2 separate regions of the Homo sapiens genome follow, and region 2 is linked to region 1. Evidence: promoter capture Hi-C in human tissues and cell types (Jung and others, 2019). All regions are on one chromosome and are shown on one strand. The core of a region is centred on a gene start or on the middle of the fragment in contact, and the rest is flanking DNA. Distances in the headings are between cores, read along the strand shown.

What was found. The method cuts DNA at HindIII sites, captures the fragments that hold promoters and counts their contacts. A contact is called where the count stands out against the background at its distance.
Region 2: a fragment that was not itself captured here is called in contact with the fragment with the promoter of KDM5A in region 1 in 1 of the 25 tissues and cell types used here (spleen).

Annotation. Positions count from the first base shown.
Region 1 is chr12:388,070-393,501 of GRCh38, forward strand. It overlaps KDM5A (lysine demethylase 5A), which reads right to left and starts at 1,251. Exons shown (of 28, transcript NM_001042603.3): 1 at 858-1,251. The coding sequence starts at 1,022. It overlaps LOC105369594 (a long non-coding RNA gene), which reads right to left. Exons shown (of 4, transcript XR_007063149.1): 3 at 3,652-3,770; 4 at 1,964-2,872. It also overlaps a transcript of CCDC77 not described here. RefSeq lists an enhancer at 1,414-1,708. The HindIII fragment of the contact is 14,723 bases long and covers 1-5,432 here.
Region 2 is chr12:938,630-944,467 of GRCh38, forward strand. All of the region lies in intron 1 of RAD52 (RAD52 DNA repair protein), which reads right to left. Among named protein-coding and RNA genes, the nearest start is that of RAD52, 8.1 kb to the right of the region's middle. The HindIII fragment of the contact is 3,456 bases long and covers 2,275-5,730 here.

The DNA of each region.
Region 1 (5,432 bases), core at 1-2,500:
TTTAAACAAGCATCCAGTTGACCCTGGTGCAAGTGGTCCAGCAACATCATTTAAAAAGCACTGGTCTAATGAGTAAAGAAAAACACCTTTGACCTTGAGTAATCACTCAACCTCTTGGGGCATTAATCCCCTCCACACAAGGGATAGTATCTGTTTTCCTTACCTCAAAGGTGAGATTATAATTAACCTTATAGGCAAACCTAGTTATCTGCAATAACTGTGATTCTAAAATCGTTGATCTTGAGTTCCCTACGTCAAGAGATTTCAACATTTCCTTCCACCTCCACTATAAACCAATTTTTCCTAAACCTCTAAATTTTAGAATTATTGCTGCTCCTTCTCTTTCCCCGCTAAGACTTTTTCACTGCGGCAATAATTAGTCTGGAGTTCTTGTCTAGTAATACCATCCGGTGAGACTAGAGCTCAGATAACCTTTTCAGAAACCCTAGCCCTGAGATGAGGCCTGCAAATATTTGATCCAACCAGGTCTTGAATAAAGAGATAGCCGACTATCAAACCATAATGAGGATACGTGAGGGAAGAATACGTCACGTCATAATACTGTACTTTAAACACCATATCGGCTAACGAAAGGCTTTAGGCCCACGGCTGAGAGAAAAGTATCAGTTCCCAAGTTCTAGGCGGAAGAGGCCCAAGAGACACCACTTTCTCGCTTTCAGACGTGTCTACATAAGACCACAAAAGAAACCGAGGCAAAAACATCCAGAAACAGGCTCCAGTTGTCTCAAAAGAGAGTACATATGAAACGAGACAAGGATCAGAAAAGTAAAGCTAAACCCAGTGTACGGACTCCCCCATTCTTCCTTCTCCCCCTCTCTCTTCACAGACTGAGGTACCTTGGGCGGCCGAATTTTGCAGATGCCGGTTTTCTCCGCCAAAGGCCGGATGCGGCCGATAAAGCTGAGCGGATCTGTGAACTCCTCCCAACTCGGCTCAAAGACGGGGCACTCTGGCGGTGGCACGAACTCCGCCGCGTAGCCCCCCGGCCCCACGCCCGCCATTGCAACGGCCGGGGGGGGGGGGGGGTCCCCGTGGGGAACCGGTGGAGAAAAGCTGGCTGAAGCCCACTAAGCCCGTTCAAGTCCCCTGACAGAGGCCGAAGCGCATCTTCGCGGACAAGAACCGTTCAACACAGAAACCCCAGAATCGCTTCCTCCTCCCGTTTGTTATTGTTTCTTGCAAGGCTTTTCCACTGAGGTTCAGGACTTTTCCGGAAGTTACCGTGCTGTCAAATCCCTCCGCCCCCTGCAGGAAACGGAATCCTTCCGCAGCTGCACGACGCCTGTGTGTCTGGCCTTTCCTTCTTCTTCTCTTCCCCGGCAGCACAGTGTGGCTGTTTGTCTCCTTGCCCGCCAAAGTTCTGCCCAGTCCAACGACTCCACGCAGCTCGCCCTTGGTAAGGGGTCGGGGAGGGGCACAAGCTCTTCTTTACTAGAGGTACGGATTGAGGGAAGCCGACGGGGCGAGGCGGGGCGAGGCGCAACGAGGCGGGGCGAGGCGCGACGCGACGTGACGCTTTCTTCCGGCGCGGAGGAATGTGTAATGCCCCAGAGGGCAGAGGTTGTGCTTCCGGTGAGGAGGGTCCCTTTCCCTTTTGTGTATCAGTGCACTCGAAAACACGCCGGGCTTAATCTTAAGCACCGCGCCTCACCGCCCGTGCTTCGTAATTTGTTTTAACCTACCCTGCTGCGTTTATAGCAAGTAGCCTTTCCAGCATTTCTCTTTTTTTAGCCCTTTGAATGCAGATATTTTACAGTAATCTCACTCTGCCACTTTATACCCGCCTCTTCTCCATCAAAACAAGTGCAGGTCTAACCCATCCCCTAAATCCTGCCAGCTGGCTTTAGCCACCATCCATGAATTGCTTTTCCTTTTACACAGGACGCAGCAGCTCTCCTGAATTACCAGCCAGTATCGTCTAGCTACCTGCAGGACATCTCACTTTGATAACTCAAAGTACTTTAATTGTTCACTGTTTCTTCAGTGTTCCTGGTTTCCATTAATGACTTCATCTATTCAGTTGCCTGAGCAAAAAAAAAAAAAAAAAAAAAAAATCAAGAAATAATCCTAATTCTTTCTGCTCTCACTTCCCATGTATAATCGTGTGTCTCTCCATCCCCGTTACCAGTATCCTAATTTAAATACTCTTACTGACAACAGCTGATTTCTCCTCTCAAATCCCTCTCCATCCACACGTTGGATTGCTTTGTCTAAAATCCAGAATTCATCTTGTCACTTTTCATCTCCAAACTCAACAACTCCAAACATCTTTTTTAATTGCTGATTTGCTGCTTTGCTCTCCAGCTTCATCTCTCCTGCTTCTCCATATGATCTACAGAAGTTTTTGTGGTGACTTTAGTACACCATGATTTTTCTCACCTCTGAGTAACAAATCAGGGGACTTTGAATAACGCAGATTGCCCTCCATAATGTGAGTAGGCCTTATCCAATCAACTGAAGGCCTGAATAGAACAAAAGACTGACCTTCCATGAGCAAGAAGGAATTTTGCCAGTAGATGGCTCTCAGACTTGAACTGTAGCATCACCTTTTCCCTGGCCTCCAGCCTGCCAACCCACCCTGCAGATTTTGGACTTGGAAGCTCTATAATCAAGTGAGTCAAGTCCTTAAAATAAATATCTTTATAAACACACACACACACACACACACACATCTTATTGGTTCTGTTTCTCTGGAGAACCGTGAATACATCTAGGGTTGGAGGGTTCAAGATGGCCTCACTTACGTGTCTGGCAGTTGGTGCTGGCTATTGGCTGGGAAGTCTTAGTTCTCCACATGGCTTCTCATCTTCTGGTAGATGGAGCTTTTCCACTGCATGGTGGTCTTAGCATTCTAAGAAGATGAGAGTGGAAGCAAAGACCTAAAGCCTAGACTCCAAAATGTACAAGATCACTCCATCATATTCTGTTGGTCAAAGCAAGTCATAAGACCATCCCAGATTCAAGAAGTGGGAAAATTCCAATTTTTTATGAGAAGAGTGACAATGTCACATTACAAAGGGGTGTAGACACAGGACGCTGTGATTCATAATAATTCCATACAATTATTATAATGATTTATGTCCAGGTGCAGTGGCTCACGCCTGTAATCCCAGCACTTTTTGAGGCCAAGGCGGGCAGATCACCTGAGGTCAGGAGTTTGAGACCAGCCTGGCCAACATGGTGAAATCCTGTCTCTATTAAAAATGTACAACAATTAGCCCAGGCGTGGTGGCAGGCGCCTGTAATCCCAGCTATCCAGGAGGCTGAGGCAGGAGAATTGCTTGAACCCAGGAGGTGGAAGTTGTAGTAAGCCGAGATCGTGCCACTGTACTCCAGCCTAGGCAAGAAGAGTGAGACTCTGTCTCCAAAAAAAAAAAAATTTACAACAAAGTCTTTGATTTTTACCACTTAAATCTGGAAAACTATATTATTCGGAAAAAGAAATAATGGAATTCCGAATAAAACAAGCCACTGATAATTCATTTTATTAAACATTCAATTAAATGTAATGGTTTTGCTTTCAAATTAACAGAGCGTGAGAACCTGATAGAACCTCAGTATAAGCACAAATCCTTAAAAGCTTTGATTGGTCCTATTTATTTCCTGTTATTTTCTTCAGATTATACTTACCTATTTTATTTTAAACTGTCTCTCTAGTAGAATAGAAAATGTATAATGATTCTCAATCATTTTTATTTGCCACAGTACTTCTGAGAAATCTGTAGTGGTTGCTTACAACAGCAGGAAGTCTGTAAGAGAAGACAGTGAATAGAAGGGCAGCAAATATTAACATCTCTGGTGCGAACAGAAGAAACTTCTGTAGTTACAACCACCTCACATTCTGATGCTTCCCTCAGGGGGGGCACATGAACCCCACTCCCACCTCTCATGCTTACCCCTTTGAAAATCACTGTTGTAAAAATCCAAATTGTGTTTCATCAGCTTCTATGAGGGCATTCTGCACACACAATGTTAAACTGAGTCAATAGTATTTGGGTTTCTGGTCAGAACAGTGGAGTATAACTGTAGTTTAAAAGGATCATTTGCATTACTTAAACAATCCTTGACAGTAACTTTTCAGAAAAAAAAAAATTAGAGTATTATTTATCTGAAATTTATTATCCTGAGTGTTAAAATAGACTAAAATGAATACTTAGATCTGATAATCATTTGGCTAGACCGTGGTCCCTGGATTTTTAAAAAATGCAATAAAACCTCACAAAATCAGATTAATTAGGGTTAGTTTCAGAGAGGGAAAAGTCAAAATTACTGAATTCTTAAACAAATGTCATTTTAATTCAAGAATAATTTCCACCAGTGATTCTCAAACTGTTTTGGTGTCAGGACGCCTTTACTCTTAAAAATTATTGAGGCCAGGCACGGTGGCTCATACCTGTAATCCCAGCACTTTGGGAGGCCGAGGCGGGCAGATCACTTGAGGTTAGGAGTTCGAGACCAGCCTGGCCAACATGGAGAAACCGCATCTCTACTAAAAAATACAAAACTTAGCCGGGCGTAGTGGTGGGCACCTGTAATCCCAGCTACTTAGGAGGCTGAGGCAGGAGAATCGCTTGAACCTGGGTGGCGGAGGTTGCAGTGAGCCAAGATGGTGCCACTGTACTCCAGCCTGGGCAACAGAGTAAGACTCTGTCTCACAAAAAAAAAAATTATTGAGAACCCCCAAAGTTCTTGTTTATATGCATAATACATATTGATGTTTACTATATTAGAAATTAAACCTAAGATGTTTAAAATATTTTATTCATTTCAATATAAAACTTTTATATTTAAATACATTTTAAAAATAATAACTATATTTTCCAAAACAAAAAAATCTGGTGAGAAGAGTGGCATTGGTTTACATTTTTTGTACTTTTTTTTTTAACATTTGGCTTAGCAGGATCGAGCTGGATTATCATATCTGTTTCTCCAACCCGTTACAATATGTTCTTTTGGTTGGAATATATGAAGAAAAACCAGCACCACACAAATATGTAGTTGGGAAAGGAAGAGCATTTTATTTATTTTTTAATTTTTATTTTCTTAGACACAGGGTGTCACTCCGTTGCCCAGTTGGAGTGCAGTGGCACAACCCCAGCTTACTCCAACTCTTGGGCTCAGGCAATCCTCCTGCCTCAGCCTCCCAAGTAGCTAGGACCACAGGTGTGCATCGTTATGCCCAGCTAATTAAAAAAAATTTTTTTGTAGACATGGGATCTTGCTATGTTGCCCAGACTGATCTCAAACTCCTGGGCTCAGGGATCCTCCCACCTCGGCCCCCCAAAGTGCTGCGATTACAGGCATGAGCCACCATACGTAGTGCAGAGAAGCATTTTAATAACCTTCTCAGATGACTGTAATTTCTTAAAGGCTAACAATTTGGAATCTAAAACTTTATCAGTTAACTTTTT
Region 2 (5,838 bases), core at 2,753-5,252, 550 kb after region 1:
CCAAGATCATGCCACTGCACTCCAGTTTGGGTAACAGAGCAAGACTCCATCTCAAAAAATAAATAATAAATAAATAAAGACTTAAGAGGCATGACAACTAAATGCACTGTGTGATCTTCAATGAAATTTCGGATCAGGGATAAAGAAAAGCTATAAAGAATATTATTAGGACAATGGGAGAAATCTGATGATGGGATGAATATGAGACTGCAGCCACAACCTCCTGGGCTCAGGTGATCCTTCTGCCTCAGCCTCCCGAGTAGCTTAGACTACAGGTGTGCACCACCACAGCTGGTTAGTGTGATAATTATATCGTGATTCTGTAGGACAATGGCCTATCACTAGATGTATGATTTTGTATGATGCAATATTGGAGTAAAGTGTCATGTTTTCTGCAACTTACTCTCAATTCATTCAACTAATTGTGTGTGTGTGTGTGTGTGTGTGTGTGTGTGTAGAGAGAGAGAAAAAGGCAAGTAGATAAAGCAAAAGTACAAATTTATGAACCTAGGTGAAGGATATGCAGACATTAATTGTAAATTTTTTTTTTGAGACAGTCTCGCTGTGCCACCCAGTGCAGTGAGGCGATCATGGCTCACCGTACCCTCAAACTCCTTGGCTCGTGATCTTCCCACCTCAGCCTCCTAAGTAGCTGGGACTACAGTTGTATAACGCCACACACGGCATATTTTTTATTTTTTGTAGAGACACGGGTCTCACTATGTTGTCCAGGCTGGTCTCAAACTCCTGGGCTCAAGCAATCTTCCTGCCCAGCCTCCCAAAGCACTGGGATTACAGACGTGAGCCACTGCACCCAGCCCACTGTAAAATTTGTCCAAAGGCTTCAAATCTTTCAGGATGAAGTGTCAGGAAAGACTACCTGCATAGCCAAGATTATGGCAGCTATATAAATCCAAATATCCAAACACATGTCCAAAAACTACACAGACCAACCAACCGGAGAAACAAAGAAAATCACCAACGTCTCATATCTTCAACATACTTAGAAGACTGAAAATACTACAAGCTTCTAATTACCCATAAGTAGAAAAACGTCAATTTCTTGTAGAGATGTTTCTCAATCTCTCATCTCAGCTCTTTAAGGACAGCAAAGAGGGATCCAGATAGGAAGAGAGATGCAAAGAAGAGAGAAGAGGGCTGGGCGCACCGGGCGCGGTGGCTCATGCCTGTAATCCCAGCACTCTGGGAAGCTGAGGCAGGCGGATCACGAGGTCAGGAGTTTGAGACCAGCCTGGCCAAGATGGTGAAACCCCGTCTCTACTGAAAATACAAAAATTAGGTGGGCGTGGTTGTGTGCGCCTGTAATCCCAGCTATTCGGGAGGCTGAGGCAGGAGAATCACTTGAACCTGGGAGGCAGAGGTTGCAGTGAGCAGAGATCACACCACTGCACTCCAGCCTGGGTGACAGAATGAGACTCTGTCTCAAAAAAAAAAAGAAGAGAGAAGAGGACAATGGAGAGCCTAAGATGGAACTAAAATATCACCCTGAAAAAGAAAACTCACGGTAAGTATGAAAACACCAACAAAGAATTCCGTTAAATCGGGAGGGAGGAAGGGAAGGTCGGGTAGAGACACTTTTAAACACATGCAGAACTTGATGAGGTAGTCTTGAAAACGCAAGCCTTCTGGGAAGAAGGAGAAAAAGAATGAAAGGGTACCCTCTGTTGGCCGGGCGCGGTGGCTCACGCCTGTAATCCTAGCACTTTGGGAGGCCAAGGCGGGCGGATCACGAGGTCAAGAGATGGAGAACAGCCTTGCCAACATGATGAAACCCAGTCTCTACTAAAAATACAAAAATTAGTTGGGTGTGGTGGCGCGTGCCTGTAGTCCCAGCTACTCAGGAAGCTGAGGCAGGAGAATTGCTTGAACCCGGGAGGCAGAGGTAGCAGTGAGCAGAGGTTGCAGTGAGCCAAGATTGCGCCACTGCACTCCAGCCTGGAGACAGAGCAAGACTCCGTCTAAAACAAAACAAAACAAAACAAAACCAAAGAGAAAGGGTACCCTCTGAAAACTGTGCTGTGAAAGACACAAAGAAAATGTAAGAGCCAAAGGACATAGAACCACCTCCCCGACAAAAAAGCCTTCTAGTAGAATTAGAAGCCATACTTGACTACACCTAGAAAAGAATAGGAACTACTCTTGAACTAGGAATCTCAAAAATCATCCTGAATGACTGTCACTCCTGCTCACGAAATGCAAACTTCGAGAAAAAAAAAAGATTGAAAAGAATGAAAGAACCTCAGGATCCTGTGGGCTAATATCAAAATGTCTAACTCACATACAATTGAAGTGAAATTGAACTCACATACAGAAGAAGTGAAAGAGAATGGAACAGAAGAAATATTTTTAAAACTAATAGCTCCAAATTTCCCAAATTGGCCGACAGACATAAATTTACAGATTTAAGAAGCTCTGCAAATCTCAAGAATAAATCTCCGGATAAATACAAATAAAATGACACCTAGATACACCACAGACAAACTGCTAAAAAACAAAAATAAAGAGAAAATCTTGAAAGCAGGTAGAGAATGATAACACATTACATACAGAGTAATGAATGATGCAAATGATGGCTCCATTTTACAATAAAGGTAAGAAACATATCTAGAAATCAATTTAACAAAATATGTATAAGACTTCTGAACTGAAAACCATAAAACAGAACTAAAAGAATTTTTTTTTTTTGAGACAGAGTTTCACTCTTGTTGCCCAGGCTGGAGTGCAATGGCACCATCTCGGCTCACTGCAACCTCTGCCTCCCAGGTTCAAGTGATTCTCCTGCCTCAGCCTCCAGAGTAGCTGGGATTACAGGCATGCGCCACCATGCCTGGCAAATTTTGTATTTTTCGTAGAGACAGGGTTTCTCCATGTTGGTCAGGCTGGTCTCAAACTCCTGACCTCAGGTGATCCACCCGGCTCAGCCTCCCAAATTGCTGGGATTACAGGTGTGAGCCGCCACACCTGGCCCAAAATTTTTATTTTTATTATTATTATTTTTTGAGACAGAGTTTTGCTCTTGTTGCCCAGGCTGGAGTGCAATGGCACTATCTCAGCTCACTGCAACCTCCACCTCCTGAGCAAGTTCAAGCAGTTCTCCTGCCTCAGCCTCCCAAGTAGCTGAGACTACAGGCACCTGCCACCACACCTGGCTAATTTTTGTATTTTTAGTAGAGACGGGGTTTCACCATGTTGGCCAGGCTGGTCTCGAACTCCTGACCTCAGCTGATCTGCCCGCTGCAGACTCCCAAAGTGCTGGGATTACAGGCATAAGCCACTGCACCCGGCCTAAAAAGAAATTTTAAAAGGCTTAAATAAGAAGGAAAATGCACCAAGTTCATATATTTGAAGACTCAATACTGTTTAGGTGTCATTTCTTTCCAAATTGATCCATAGATTCAATGCAATCCCAATCACAACTTTACCAGACTTTTCTGTAAAACTGGTAAAGATAATTCTGATATTTATATGGAAATGCAGAGGATTTAGAATATTCACATCAAGCTTGAAAACAACAAAATTGGAAGACCTACAACTACATGACTTCAAGACTTACTAAAAAGCTACAGTAATTAAAAGTGTGGTACTAACACAAGGATTGAACAATGGAACAGAAAAGGGAGTGCAGACATCAATTACCATTTGTACAGTCATCTTAATTTCCAAAACGCAATACAATAGCATTTTCAACAAATGGTGCTGGAATGACTGGATATCTATATGGAAAAGAAATTAATATTTAATTATATCTCACACCATTCACCTAAACTAGAAATGGGTGATAGGCTTAAACATAAAACTAAAACTATAAAATTTATAGGCCGGGCACGGTGGCTCACGCCTATAATCCCAGCATGTTGGGAGACCGAGGCGGGTGGATCACAAGGTCAAGAGTTCAAGACCAACCTGGCCAACCTGGTGAAACCCTGTCTCTAATAAAAATACAAAAATTAGTTGGGCATGGTGGCGCATGTCTGTAATCCCAGCTACTCGGGAGGCTGGGGCAGGAGAATCGCTTGAACCTGGGAGGCAGAGGTTGCAGTGAGCGGAGATCGCCATCACCGCACTCCAGCCTGGACGACAGAGCAAGACTCTGTCTCAAAAAAAAAAAAAACTTACAGAAGAAAACATGAAAGATTATCTTCACAGCCTGAAGGTAGCCAAGATTTCCTAGGACTCAGAAAGCAGTAACTATAAAAGAAAATATAAGAGAAAACTGATTACATCAAAATGTAAAACTTCTGTTCATCAGACAACTCTAAGAAAATGAATAGGCAACCAGACAGAGGACAGGTAACCAGGATATAAAGGTTATATAAATAACTGCTACAACTCAATAATAAAAAGACACACAACCCAATGTAAAATGGGCAAAAGATTTGAGCAGGCACTTCACAAAGGAAGATGCACATTGTCATGGGCACAGGAAAAAGTGCTAAACACCATTAGTGACTGAGGACTAAAATTAAGACCATGACACACCACACCCATCAGAATAACTCAAAAGACTGACAACACCAAATGCTGGCAAGGATGTAAAGCAACTGGAACTCTCATACACTGTTGGCAGGAAACAGGCTGATAAAACCACTCAGCTGTTAATGCACACTACTCTTCATGAAAACCAAAGGCCGACTCCAAGGACGGAGCCACACGTCCAGGGAGTAGAGCAGCAGAGGCCCAATCCCAGGCCTGGAGCCCTACTGGTTTTTTGAGACGAAGTCTTGTTCAGTCGCCCAGGCTGGAGTGCAGTGGCACAATCTCGGCTCACTGCAACCTCCATCTTCCTGACTGAAGCAATTCTCCAGCCTCAGCCTCCCGAGTAACTGGGACTACAGGCACGTGCCATCACGCCCAGCTAATTCTAATTCTTGTATTTTTAGTAGAGATGGGGTTTCACTATATTGCTCAGGCTGGTCTCGAACTCCTGAGCTCAAGTGATCCCCCCGCCTCGGCCTCCCAAAGTGCCAGGATTACAGACGTGAGCCACCGCGCCTGGCCTATTAGTTCTTTATTTATCTTGAATATCAGTCTTTTGTCAAATAGGTCCCTGTGTTTCCCCATTCATTTTCTTAGAGTAGTCTGTGATTACATTTTGATGTAATCAATCATATTTATCTTTGTGTGTGTGGTTTTTTTTTTGGGTTTTTTTTGCTTTTTTAAGTGACTCTGGCATCCTGAGCCCTAAGAAACCTTTGCACACACTCAGGTCATGAAGATATTCTTCTCATCTTCTTCCAGAAGCCTCACGGTTTTCTAATTTTGAAAATAGGTCTGGGCGGGGCCCGCTGGGTGCAGTTGCTCACACCTGTAATCCCAGCACTTTGGGAGGCTGAGGCAGGCGGATTGCATGAGGTGAGGAGTTCAAGACCAGCCTGGCCAACATCATGAAACTCCATCTCTACAAAAAATACAAAAATTAGCTGGGCCTGGTGGAATGTTCCCGTAGTCCTAGCTACTCAGGGGGCTGAGGTGGAAGGCTTGCTTCAGCCTGGAAGGTAGAGGCTGCAGTGAGAAGAGATCACCCCACTGCACTCCAGCCTGGGTGACAGAACGAGACTGTCTCAAAAAAAAAGAAAGAAAGAAATTAAGTAGCCAGGAGTGGTGGCTCACGCCTGTAATCCCAGCACTTGAGGCTGAAGTGGAAGGATCGCTTGAGGCTCAGGAGTTCAAGACAAGCCTAGGGAACATGGCTGTCTCTACAAGCAGCAAAACGTTAGTCGGGCATGGTGGAGCATGCCGGCAGTCCCAGCTACTCAGGAAGCTGTGGTGGGAGGATCACTTGAGCGGGGGCGAGGAAGGGGTCAAGGCTGCAGTGAG